Linked DNA regions of Homo sapiens: region 1 is linked to region 2. The links are contacts of gene promoters, found by promoter capture Hi-C in blood cells and fetal thymus (Javierre and others, 2016). All regions are on one chromosome and are shown on one strand. Each heading gives the region's core, a stretch centred on a gene start or on the middle of the fragment in contact. The rest is flanking DNA. Distances are from core to core; before and after follow the strand shown.

Evidence for each region. The method cuts DNA at HindIII sites, captures the fragments that hold promoters and counts their contacts. A CHiCAGO score of 5 or more calls a contact.
Region 1: a contact is called between a fragment that was not itself captured here and the fragment with the promoter of FOXE1 in region 2, in 1 of 17 cell types (endothelial precursors). The highest score is 6.1, in endothelial precursors.

Annotation. Positions count from the first base shown.
Region 1 is chr9:97,747,147-97,753,552 of GRCh38, reverse strand. All of the region lies in intron 5 of PTCSC2 (papillary thyroid carcinoma susceptibility candidate 2), which reads left to right. Among named protein-coding and RNA genes, the nearest start is that of XPA, 53 kb to the right of the region's middle. The HindIII fragment of the contact is 932 bases long and covers 4,644-5,575 here.
Region 2 is chr9:97,848,520-97,855,303 of GRCh38, reverse strand. It overlaps FOXE1 (forkhead box E1), which reads right to left and starts at 2,078. Exons shown (of 1, transcript NM_004473.4): 1 at 1-2,078. The coding sequence starts at 1,389. The coding sequence ends at 268. It overlaps PTCSC2 (papillary thyroid carcinoma susceptibility candidate 2), which reads left to right and starts at 2,224. Exons shown (of 11, transcript NR_147055.1): 1 at 2,224-2,388. RefSeq lists an enhancer at 3,110-3,611. The HindIII fragment of the contact is 6,931 bases long and covers 1-4,010 here.

The DNA of each region.
Region 1 (6,406 bases), core at 3,860-6,359, 100 kb after region 2:
CAATAAGAATGGAACTTCATCTCTGTGATATTCTTTCCCAAAATTCACTAGCTCTGTCAAGTCATGAGAAAACATCAGGCAAACCCAAATTGAGGTCATTCTGCAAAATGCCTGAGTAGTATTCTTCAAAAATGTCAAGGTCATGAAAAAAGGGAAGACTGGGAAACTGTCACAGATTGCAGGAGAGTAAAGTGACATGACAGCTAAATGTAATGTGGTACCCTGTGTTGAATTTTGGAACAAAAAAGGACATTAGTACAAAAATTAGTGAAATCTGAGTAAAGTCTATAGTTTCATTACTAGTATTGTACCAATGTTAATTTCTTAGTTTTGAAAATTGTTCTGTGGCTATATAAGATGTTAACCTCAGGGAAAGCTGGGTGAAGAATATATGAGAATTCTCTGTTCTATCTTTCACAGCTCTTCTGCAATTTGAAAAGGTTTTTGAAATGAAAACAAAGAAAATAAATTACATTTGCTGCACAGACTGGTTGTTAGCCACTACCAAAGAAATATCAAAGCCAATGAGAATTTGCCCCTGCTTTATAGTTCTAATACATCAAACTGTCTAAAGGAGGCCTTCAGTTCTCAGATCTAGTTGACATCCCTCCATGTTGATCTAACAATCAGGAGGGTGGAGCAGGATATTTATCGCAATGGGCCCATTGCACAGAGGAGGGAGCTGAGGCACAGATCATAGCACCCCATCATCTCATTGTACAGATGGGGAGACTTAGGCCTAGAGAGAGGGAAGATTTGCCCTTGGTTATATAGCAGATAAAGGGGCCAATCCAGGGCTAGAACTCCTGCGTCCCCATCCTTAAAACTATCTTGGCTGCTGTTTCAGGGCAGCTGCAGACAAAGCTTAAATTTGAACTATGCAGGAAGGCAAAGGAGAGTAGTTTTCATCTTGCCCCCACCCCCTTCTCACCTTTGAGTTAAGCAATGAAGCTGAAAAGATCCTTCAACAAACAAATCCCTCCTCATTATAGAATCCACAGGCACATCAGCTCTTAGGAAACCTGAAAGGCAAGCTCCTGAGGAGGGAGGGCTGTTCATACATGCCTGTCCAGGTGCCCTCTTCCCTGCTCACTCTCAAGAAGACAGAATGTCTGTTTCAGGAGCAGCAGTGCGGTGGACATTCAGGTTCCCAGACCACCATGATAGAATAGGCTAGGGGTTGTGGGAGCAGTGAGGTTCCAAGAGCCGGCTTCCAGGAAGGCACACTGGCCAAGGCATAGTCTATACTTCCCTATTCCAAAGTTGGATTCTTTCTGGATGTTAGAAAATGCTCCAAAGTACTCCCGTTGATGGGAAAAGGCATTTGTGGAGTCAGGCCCATGTGGTGATCAGATAAAGAACGTTCCCAGGCCAATGGATGAATCCAGAAAAAGATGAGCCCTTTTTCCTTCAAAAGAAAAGTGCAGCTCCACTGTCCCTTTTAAACTACGAGAAAACTGGATTAGTGGGATATAGTTTTGCTCATGAAATTGGGGCCAGGAATTCTGGGCAAGGTTTGGCTGCGCCAAGAGATGGAATTGCCTTAGAGAAGGAAAATGCAGAGAAAAGATCCCACTTAAGCATCTTATTTGAGGGATATAGAATAGTTTCTCCATTTGCATAAATAAAATATTAAAGCTTTTTGTTCAGGAAACCTATATCTCAGAGGAAAAGAATGCAATAATTCCAGTAATTAACAATTCCCCCAAGAAGTGTGGTTTGCATCATACATGATCTTCTCATTTTGATCCTCTTGGTTCCCAGAAAATGCAATGTTCTTTCTCCAGGGCCCCATGAAGGAGAGATGGCATTGACAAGAAGACTTTGCATACCTATGATGTCAGAGTCCAAAGTTTCAACTCTTGGTTGATCAGCTTTTAAGATTAGAAAACACAACATGGTGTAGGAAAAGATTCTGGGCATTGCTGTACATCATCCTGGGCTTAAATCCTGGTCCTACTTGGTAGCTGCATGGCTGAACTTTGAAGAATTGGTTAGCCTCTCTGACCCTTTGGTTTCTCCTCTTTAACTACGGTAATAACTCCTACTTAATGGTATTGTTGGGATAGCTACCATCAGGTTCCATGGTACAGTGGGTGCTCAGAAGGTATTCTTGCTGAATATCTCTTGAATATCTTCTCTCTAATTTGCTTGTAAGGAGTCCTGTTTTGCAGGAATATGTGTTGATTAAGAATTTCTTTTAATTTTCCTCAGATAAATAAGAACTTCTTTCTGTCTGCTTTCTTTTTACAACTGCTGTATGGAGCTATGGAAAAGTTTCTTTTAATGACAGCTTTTAAGACCTTCAGCAGATTAGCACTTTCGATTCTGATTAAGCTAATCACAGTGCAGTTTACTGCTATTTTGTAGCAATTACCACCATTTTAATTGGCTAATTAATTGGGAAATAAATTGTTTAATGATGATCTGTTTTACCAGAATGTAAGCTTTATGAAGGCATGAACAGTAGGGACAGAATCTGTCATGTTTACTGCCATACTCCTCATACCAGCCATGTGTATGTGTGTGTATACACACATATATATTAAGCACAATATAAGTGTTGCTGTTACTTTTTGGTAGCAAATATTTATCCTTTGAGGGTGCAATCATTTTTGGAAGTAGCCAAAAGATAATCCCAGCCCTGTAAATGATCAAGCTGAGAAAGAGGGTTTTTGGTAAAAATCAAATATTTTATGTATTCATTTCCCCCCCCCCACCTTTTTTGTTGTTGTTGTTGAGACAGAATCTTGCTCTGTTTCCCAGGCTGCAATGCAGCGATGTGATCAGCTCACTGTAACTCAAAACTCCTGGGCTCAAGTGATCCTCCTGCCTCAGCCTCCCAAGTAGCTGGAACTGCAGGCACGCACCACCACGTCCGGTTAATTATTATTATTATTATTATTATTTTGGAGATGGGATCATGCTATGTTGCTCAGGCTATGTAGAACTCCTGACCTCAAGTGATTCTCCTGCCTCAGCCTCCCGAAGTGCTGGGATTATAGGTCTGAGCCACCAGGCCCTGCCTTCCTTCACTTACCAATATTTCTTTAGTCCTAAGTGCTGGGAGCTGGGAAGCCAAGCATGAACCTTGCTCTCAAAGGGCCTCTGGCCAGGCTGAGAAGACAGACAGACATATCAACAACTGCAGGAAAGGCCAGACAGAGCCTTGGAGCTGGAGGCAGGGGGCAGGACACTTGGATTCTAGTTCCAGCTGTGCTTTGAACTTGCTTTGTGGCCTTGAATAAGTCCTTCTCCTCTCTAGGCCTGTGTGTTGGGGGAATTAGACTGATGTGAAACATCTAGCTTTGTGGTCCTGGGATCTTGAGATTACTTTCAATAAGACAGTGCTCCTTCCAGCAGTTTCCATCTCTTGAATCCTGTGCGGCCTCTACAGGAAGGTGTGTGAATTCTGTCTGCTGAGAGCTTTCCAAAATGCCAGCCCTGCCAGCCTGCCTGGAGTGAAAAGGCCGTTCTTGGCCATGGTGCCTCCCCTCCTTGGCTGTGCAACCTGAGAACACCTGCTACTCTCTGGGTCTCAGAACCTCACATGTACAACAAAGAGGCTCTGCACAGAGGTCTCCAGGCTTCCTTCACGGCCTCCATCCTGTGCTCTCAGGTTGTCAGGACAAGAGCTGATATTTTTCAGGGCAGCACTTCACAAACTGTGTTCAGTGAAACATTTGTATTCTGTGGGACAGGAATAGGATTCAGCAAACAAAAAGTAGTGGTGGGAAGGGAGTTGTTCCAGCCTCAAATAAGTGTGGAAGATGCTTACTTTTTTTTTTTTTAATGGAGTCTCGCTCTGTCACCCAGGCTGGAGTGCGGTGGAGTGATCTCCGCTCACTGCAACCTCTGTCTCCCAGGTTTGAGCAATTCTCCTGCCTCAGCCTCCCAGGCAGCTGGGATTGCAGGTACCCGCCACCACACACAGCTATTTTTTGTATTTGTAGTAGAGATGGGGTTTCACCATATTGGTCAAGCTGGTCTCAAACTCCTGACCTTGTGATCCACCTGCCTTGGTCTTCCAAAGTGCTGGGATTACAGGCGTGAGCCACCGCACCTGGCCAATGCTTAGTTAAATTTAGACAAGAATCCTCAGGATGTTCAGCATGCTAATGACATTTTGAATTTCCTCGAGGAACAATGCAGTAGACAGAAAGGTAGACTTGCAAAGTGGCAAAATGCACAAGATGAGTTTGGAATCCTGGTTGCACTACTGCCTAGCTGTGCAACCACAGGGAAGTTCATTAGCCTCTGTGAGCTGCAGTTTCCTCACAGTTCAGAGGAAAATATGGACCCTGCCTTTTAGGGATATTATCAGGATGAAAGACAACATTGCATGTAAGATGCTATGGGCATTGTTATTATGTATTGCCCATGGGGTTTTTTGTGGGAGGAATAGCTATAAGCATCTCTCAGGATTGTAGTATTCCACAAACACAGTTTGGGAAGGGCTGAGCCATCTGTGTGTTCCAAACACTGCTGTTTTTTTACTCTGACGTTGCAAGACTTCAGTGAACATCTGTTCTGCCTCTTCATCCAGTTGAATTGATTGTGAAGTCCCAGGGTGCAATGGGGACACAGTTTAGGCACCAAGTACAGGGTTCTTAAAACTCAGGTGAGCCCAGGCCCTTAAAGCTTAGGTGGATAAGCAGGTGTGGCTCAACAGGGGTATCTGAGAAGGAGTTTAAAGGATGAGCCTGGAGAGATGGCCTTGGGAAGGTCATTATGCCAGGAGGAGGAATTTGGGCTTTACCCTGGGGCAACAGGGATTGTGCTGCATGTGCCTGGAGGCCCTGCCTTCTGCTCCACTTTGTCACACATCCTCTGACCTGGGCATCCAGGGCTGGTCCAAGTGGGTGGCAGGTAGACCAGGAGGCATTAGTGAGATGCTGGCTTCCCTCTCAGCATGGAGCCTGGGACATGTCACTCACCCCTCTTTGTCTTAGCCTCCACATCCATAAAATGAGAGGCATCACGACTCCTGGGCAGCCTGACCCACAGGGCTGTTGTGAAGGTTCAGGGAGATAAAGTATTTCAACGAGCACATTAAGTTGAGATCCTAGTATGTGCCACGCCTTGTATTTAGGCCTGGGGGAGACTGAGATGAACAACACATGATCCCTGCCCTTGAAGGCTCACAAGCTGCTGAGTTTGGTACACTGAAGTAAGTGCTAAGATAAAGATAAGCCCATGAAAGGGACCTTCACCCAATGTAGGGAGTGGAAAGGCTGATGAGGGGAAGGAGACATTTAGGAATCTTCCCGGGAGGAGGTGATGTCTCTGCTGAGTTCTGAGATACACCTGGTAGTTAGTGGATGAAGAAGGAAGAAATAAGTTTCCAGGCAGAGGAAACAGCATGAGGAAAGTCAAAGAAAAATGAAATGTCACAGTCCATCTGTGCAAATGAGTAGCAAGCAGTATTATTAGGACTTTAAATTTGAGGTATGGAAGAAGATGTAATGGACACCATTGGTGGCGACATTGTTTGCATTTAGACAGACAACACATTCAAAAGCTAAGGAAGTGAAGCTCTAACTGGACAACTCCAGTAATTAGCTTGTATAAAGCTTTTTTGTTTTCCCTGAAATTGCACCATGGTCTCTTTGCTATCTGTGATAGGTTACCTCGGTGGTGTTGGGCAGACTGCAGGCCTTGAATGCCAGGCTGAAGGGTTTGCTCTATAGCTTGCAGACTAATGGAAGAATTAGCCATAAAAGCCAGGGGATTTAGAATGGAATCCTTGGCATTCTCTGCATGTGTGGGGCTGGCTAGGCAAGGAGGTTCCCAGAAGAAAAACAGAGCAACCTTTGCCCTCCTTCTGTACTTAGGTGAAAAGCAGAATTAGAATGGGGCTGACTGAGTGATGTGGTTATTGTGCCTTCCTTTTGGGCTTCAGTATCCAATCTGCCCTAGTGCAGGGGGCTTAAGGCATGCCACTCGGGAGGCCAGATGATAAGCCCCAGCCACGGCCTAGGCTTTGGGGAGCTACTGCACACAAACAAGCCTGTGCCAGGGAATTAGTACTGTTGTTATTAAGAGAAAGAGGCTTGGCTGTAGCTCTCCAGCTGAGAACATGCACTGTCCAGGCTGCCACCACTGCAGGGAGAGTCTCTCATCCTGCTCCTCCAGGACACCCCCCATCACTGCCTTGGCCTCTGTGCTTGACAGATGAAACCTCCCATTGGGAGGCCCCTAAGGTGAACAGAGGCAAGGGCTGGGAGACAGGAGGTTAGGGACTCTGCCCCTAACCTACTGTGTAACCTTGGGTGAGTCCATTCACTTCTCTGAGCCTTTCTAGAAAGACTTTCTCACATTTCCGGAATGAAGAAAGTCCAACCCTGTGTAGGGCCAAGGGCAGATAATGAGCATTAGATAAGATAATGTGTGTGGAAGGGCTTTG
Region 2 (6,784 bases), core at 829-3,328:
ATACCAGAAAGCATCCCGTTTGAGGGCTTCGCTCCATCGAGGGTCCCTGTGCCAGTCCAAGGGCTCTGGCTGCCTCGCCCCACCTCCTCCCGTTTACAGAGTACACCGGGTGCCTACGCTGTGCGCGGGGAGACCGAGCCTCTGTGGCCTGCTCGGTCTTTTCCACGTGGGTCCCAGTTGAGTCCTCTCTCCATTCCTGTTCGTTCTCAGATTGCGGGGAACGTGTGAACAGCCGATGTGTCTATGAGTTTTCGTCCCTACGCTGGCTCACATGGCGGACACGAACCGATCTATCCCACCGGGATAAGCGGCAGCATGGCGAGCATGGTAGGCGCCTGCACTGGCCCCTCCGAGCTGCCCGCCAGGGTTGTAGCAGGCTCCCAGCGCTCCGAACTGGCCGGGCGACGTGCGCCCGTAGAAGTCCACCGTGGTCTCCACGCCGCCACTGCTGCCGCCCGCTGGGGGCGAAGCGGGTCCCGCCAGGCGGCCAGCAGCGGCAAAGATCGCACTGCCGGCGCCCTGCGGGTACGCGCCGTCGGGGCCCGCGTAGGCAGCCGCATAGGCGGAGGGGTTGGCCGGCCGGGCCCCGGTGCAGCCTGCGGGCTGGTAGCCGGTGGTGGTAGCGGGGGCGCCGGCGGAGGCAAAGGCGCAAGAGCCGCCGGGCCCCGACGGTGCGGGCCCCAGCTCTGGGCTGAGCGGCCGCTCAGGAACCAGGCCGAAGACGCGGCAAGGGCCGGGCGACGCCGCGGGGTAGTAGACTGGAGGCGGCGCGGCCAGCGACGGCGGCGCGTAGCCTGCATAGACGGCGCCCGGGTAGGGGGGGCGCGCGGCGGGCACCGCGCCTGGGAAGATGGCGGCGGCGGCGGCGGCGGCGGCGGCGGCGGCTGCGGCAGCCGCCGCGTCGTGCATGTAAGCCGGGTAGGTGGAGAGGTCCGAGCGCTTGAAGCGCTTGCGGCGGCGCAGGAAGCTGCCGCTCTCGAACATGTCCTCCGCGTTGGGGTCAAGCGCCCAGTAGTTGCCCTTACCCGGGCGGCCGGCCTCGCGCGGGATCTTGAGGAAGCAGTCGTTGAGTGTGAGGTTGTGGCGGATGCTGTTCTGCCACTTTTTGGGGTTGTCGCGGTAGAAGGGGAAGCGCTCGGTGATGAACTTGTAGATGCCGCCCAGCGTGAGGCGGCGCTCGGGCGCGTGCGCGATGGCCATGGCGATGAGCGCGATGTAGCTGTAGGGCGGCTTCCCGCGCTGCAGGGGGCGCTTGCGGCGCCGCCCGCCCGCCCCGCGGCCCGTGGCCTCCCCTGGGACCCCGGCCCCTGCTGCCGTCTCGCCGCGCTCTTCCTTCACGGTAGCCAGCACCTCCGGCTGCGGCGGCGGCGGCCCGCTCTCGGCAGTCATGGCGCGGGCGTCCCGCACCCCCGGGCTCTGGATCCCCGCGGCTGTCGGGGGGCGGGGGCGGGCCTGGCGTCCCCGGAACGGACGCTCGGCCCTTCTGCGGAGAGCTCAGGGGATCGTCGCGGGCTGGCCCCGAGAGCCCAGCGGCCCAGGCTGGCACGCGCTGGAGGCTCAGCGTCCGTGGTCTGGGGCTGGCGCGGTGCAGACAGAGGCTCGGGAGTGACCCGCTAGCCGACGGCTCAGCCCGCGTGGTGCTTCTCGAGGCGGGCAGCGGCGGTGGCCTCGTGACCGGGACTGGACTCTGGTCTCCGGCTGAAGGGTCCCTTGCGCGCTGGTGCCGGGCGGTCGAGGGGTCCGGAAGTGATCCCTGGGTTGGGGTGGCTGCAGCTGGTCTGTGGTGCCCGCTAGTTTAGGATTACTGCCTAGGTTGTGCGCGCAGAAGAGGCTTCGGGCTCGAAGGCCAGAGCGAGGGCAGTTAGTACTGGCGCTGGGCGATCTGGCGGGGGCCGCCCATGCCCTGCCCCCGAGGCCAAGGTGGCCGTAAGCGCCACGGGCAGAGAGGCGAGGCGGGGGCAGCGAGGTCGGGGCGCGGGCCCAGGCGGGGCGACCTGAGGCTGGTCCTCTCCACGGCGTGGGTCTCCAGCCCTGCGGACCGCTGGCGAGGCGCTCCCCTGCACACACCGGACCGGCTCCTCCCTCCGCCGGCTTCCCCTCCTTAAAGGGGCCACGAAGCGTGGGGCGGCACCGGTTCCCTGCCCGCCCCCCGACTGCCCGCCCCCCGGGGCCCGGGCGCACCTCCCCAGGTAGGAGCAGCTGTGGCGGCGCGGTAGGAGCCCCACAGCGTCAGGGCGGGGAGGGCGCTTGGAGATCCCCCGGGTCGGCCCCCTCCGCACCCCGATCGACTGAGGCCCGGAGAGTTCAGGAACCGGCTCGGGAGACCTCAGCGCCCGAACTCGGAGTTTTCGGACTTTTCAGGCCTCTGCCAAGGGCTTGGACTCGCAGGTGAAAGGACGGGCTCATCTCACTTTTTTGTCCTGAGAGGGTGAGAATTGGCCGAGAGGGCGCTTGGTTTTTGTGGGAATGGGGAGGGAGAAGTTCCAGGAGACTGGCTCCCCGGGCCTTTCAGGATGGTTTCCAAACCCCAATCGTGGCTGCCACAGCCACTCGGCACTCCAGTCCCCCCATCTTTCGAATGAGTATTCCTAGGCCCGAAAGGGAAGGTGACTTGCCATGGCCCCACTGCGGCTTCTCCGCTTAGCGGAGTCTCCAACCTGCGTCTCCTTTAGGACTGCGCTTCCCAACTGTGTGGTAGAGGTAGCCGCTTTCCCTTTTTGGGCCCCAGGTCCCTCGACTGTACCGGGGTCTGGATCTCTCAAGAGTCCTTGCGTGGTAGATATTTAGGGATAGGCCAATCACCACCCCCAATCATCCGTCTTTGAGAGGCCCAGGATCTGTCTCTATTTGATGGATAGTGGTGCACGGATTAAAGACGACGCAGGATAGGTAACCTCCTCCTCCAATCCCCCGGGACCAGGGTAGCTCTGAAGACCCCCAGAGGCAGCCAAGCAGCCCCTTCCCGCAGCGGGGAGTGAGGGCTGCGGGTAATGGGGGAGTGGGAAGAGAGCGGTGGCCGGGTGGGCGCGTCTCCGGGGGAAGGGGCGGGCAGTCGGGACACGTTTGCTTCATGGGTGTCCAATTTCTGAGTTCCTTTCCTGCTGTCCCTGAGCCGGAACTTGGTCCTAACCTGAGATCCTCGCGGCGCGGCCCCTCTGGCCCGGGTTCGTTCCCTGGCCATTCACTGGGAGATCCAGGGCCTGTCCTTGTCCCCTCGCAGGGCCTCAGTGTTCTACTCTGTTAAATAGCAGCTGGAGGGCGTGTGCTGATCTCCGAGGCCCCTGCTACGTATAGGATTCCGGGCCTTGGCGCGGGTTCCAGTGGCTCCAGCCCGGACGCAGCTTTCCGGGGTGGGGGGGGGGGGCGGGCCGGGGCTGTGGGTGCAGAGCCGCGCGGATGGTGGTGCCAGGTGAGTGTGGGAGATCCCAAGACGAGAGTTCTGGCCAGTAACGGGTGGCATGCCTTCCAGGGTTTTAGTCGCGTTCTTCGTGGCGGTGAGCTGAGGGCAGGCTAAGCCCGGCCAAGCGTTGGGCAGCTGCCTTCGGAAGAGCGAGGCAAAGCCCAGATCCTTGCTCCGTCGACCCGGTGTGTGGAAACGCTCAAAGCGTTTGCTTGACAACCTTCTGCGGCAGAGGGTTGGTCGAACGAAGGGAGAGGGGCTTTACACTCGCTAAACAAAACTCCTGGTTTCCTTCTTCCCAAGTAATGGAGAAGCAAAAAACCCAGATTTCGTCCTGTTTCGTTTTTACAAAGGAGGAAAAACTTCAAATTTTAAAATTTTTAACTGGATTATATTATAGGCACCTTTTAATACGGGATTTCGTGGCTCTCAGTAACTTTCAAGATTCTGAGATTCAGATATCTAGATTTTAAATTCTGGACGACCGTTGTCCTAACGTGATTCCATAAATCTAAAGAATGCGATCCTGCGATCCTGCGACCCTGTAATTCTAAGATTCCAAGACTGGGAGTCTAACTTTGACTATGCTTATATTCCTTTGACTTAAGCTTCTAGTCAAAGTCTAAAAACCTATGTATTAAGATACTGGGACTAAACCAGGCACGGTGGCGGGAGCCTGTAGTCCCAGCTACTGGAGGTTAAGGCAGGAAGATCGCTTGAGCCCAGGAGTTCCAGGCTGTAGTGCACAATCATTGTGCCTGTGAGTAGCCACAGCACTCCAGCCTGTGCAGCAAAGGGAGACCCGGTCTCTTAAAAGCAAAACAAAACAAACAAAAAACGGGGACCTAAGATTTTGTGCCTGAAAATATGATGCCACTCTTGAAGCTGCCACTTCTCCAGTTTTTTATTTTTTCCACTCTAAGTTATATATTATTTAATTTGAATTCCTGTTTAGGAATGTCTGATTGGAAGAATTTGAATCCTGTAAATCCGCAGTTCTCTCCTTCCTTAATTCTAAAATGTTAGTGCTGGATCTGCTATTCTGTAGTTCAAATAATCTGATTCCAATAATTCTTCTAATGTTTGTGATTATATGCTGTAATGATTAGTCCCATGACTTTATGATCCTCTACTTTTAAGCTGCAACGACTATGGCTAAAAGCCTTCTTGTCTCAGGATTTTCTGTTCTTCAGTGTCTTGTGTCTGTGACCTCATTCTTCTAGAATTCTGATGGTTTTCTCAAACTTTGTTAATATCAAGCTACTCCTGTGGCCGAGACCAAATACCTAGCATCATGAGATTAGAATTTCCAAGATCATGATTCTAAGATTTTCGCAAACCAAGGACCCCTAAATTTCTATTTCATAAATGTTCTCTTTGAATAATGCATTTGAAGATTCTGTGAGTCCACAGTGAGTTCACATTAAATGATTTGGTGAGTACACAGGTCACAAGTTTACCCGTTTGGATCAAAACCATACACAAAAATCTCCTCGGGGCATTTCCTATCTCTTCCCATTGCTTCCTTCTCAGTTTCTTGAGAAGGAACATGGTCATGGCCAAGTCCTCCCCTCTTCTCTGCCACAGTGCTCCTTAACGTTTATGAATCATCTGGAAGTTAGGAAGGGCAGGTTCCAGACCCTTGGAAATCATTCTCCCAATCCAGCAGGGGTGGGTTGGTGTTGATGTGGGCAGGCCAGTGATTTCTGCTTCCCACTGATCTTCAGCCCTTCAAGTATTCCCAGCACCCCTGGAGAAGCCAGCCTGCAGCAGGCCATTTTATGTGCATAGGGGGCTGGAGGTGCTATTGGGAATCTTTAGAAGATGTTCTTCTGCAACAGCTGCTTTCCTCAGTTTTGAATGGGCGACTTTGTAAATAAAAACGAGAGGGGTCCAAGGAGTCAAGGAAAATTCCTCCAGATTCCTTGACGGAGATTCCCCTGCATGCAGACGCAGAGGTAACCAGTTCTTCTATTAAAGAAACCATGGAAATTCAAGCTGGAAGGAGACTGGGCCTGGATTGTGGAAGGGACTTGTAGAGAGAAAAGCCTTGGGCTGAGAAGGAAACTCAGGTCTTTGGGCCTTACTCTTTGGCCCCAAAGCCTCTCTGTCTTTTCTTGAGTTCTCAGAGCCTTACTTGTACTTAATTCTTTGGCCTGGGCTGCCCTTTTTACTGAACAACAAAACTCCAGGCGTCCACACTTGCAAATCTGATCCAAGGATCTCCTTACAGCAGCATCGCAGTGACCTGTTTAGGTTACTCCAGTGCATTCTGTCTGGGTCAGTGGGCTGTATGGCCCTAGAGAGCATCAGAGCAAGACACTGTCACAAAAGGGGGCCCCCAAGTCACACTCGTCCTGCTGACCACAGAAGACATCCATGTAAGGCAGCACCAGTGTTGTGAGGGTTTCCACCCAAGATTGCTCAAGACCCACCCAGCGACTTTAAACCATCCACTGCCCTTCTTAGGCCTCAGTTTCTCTATCTGTGAAGTGTGTATGTGGGGATATCCCATATCTGTGCTTTCTCTTCCACCGAGTCAAGGTGATAAAGTGGAGCGCCTTACAGACGCGCGGTCCTCTTCTTCCTCTTTTAAATTGTTTTAAGGCGAAACTTGGACATGGAAAAAAGACGCTGGGGATAATTCTAGCCTGTTCCACTCACAGGCCGCGATGAGATGCGCACACCCCCACCCACCGCCCCTCTCCACGGAAGAAGTAGCGGTTGATTAAAGTGTAACATTTTCTGCGGTCTAGCGGGGGATTTTGAGTCTCCGAGGCTCCCGCGGGCGTGGACCCTTTCGGTTTCCCAGAGCTCGGCAAGCGCTCTCTCCCTTTAAGTTGGTCCACTTAAACACTATGAACAGCGAATCACTGTCACCCAGGGGACAGGATGGAGGAACTGGGGCCCAGGAAGGGGAACCTTCTGCTTCCCACCTCCCCGTTTGCTTAGATCCCGCCACCAACGTTTCTTACGTAGGTAAGAAGCACCTAGCCTTTCTTACCCCGCTCCCCGCAAGCCCTCCCACAGAGCCCTCTCCCAACCCAGTCTGCGCGGGCCCGGGACACTCAGTGTTCTCAGAGCAGCGGGGAGCGCAGGAGCCGGCTTGGAGGTCCAGCAGCTTTACGGCCACAACGAGAAGGGGAAGTCGGCTCCGGACGGCGCGGACTTGTCCCACTGCGCACAACGAATCGGGGACAGAGTCAAGCCAGACCCTGCTCCCGCTCTAGGTTGGCTCCACGCGCTTTCCCTGCGTTCCGGACCCGAGGACCACGAAGCGCAAGCCACTACCCGCGTCTGATCCGACCCAGGCGGGCGGGCGGGAGTTCAGCTGTGGCGGCGGGCATTCCTGGCAAAGCCGTGGCCCGGGGCGAAGGTGGCGGC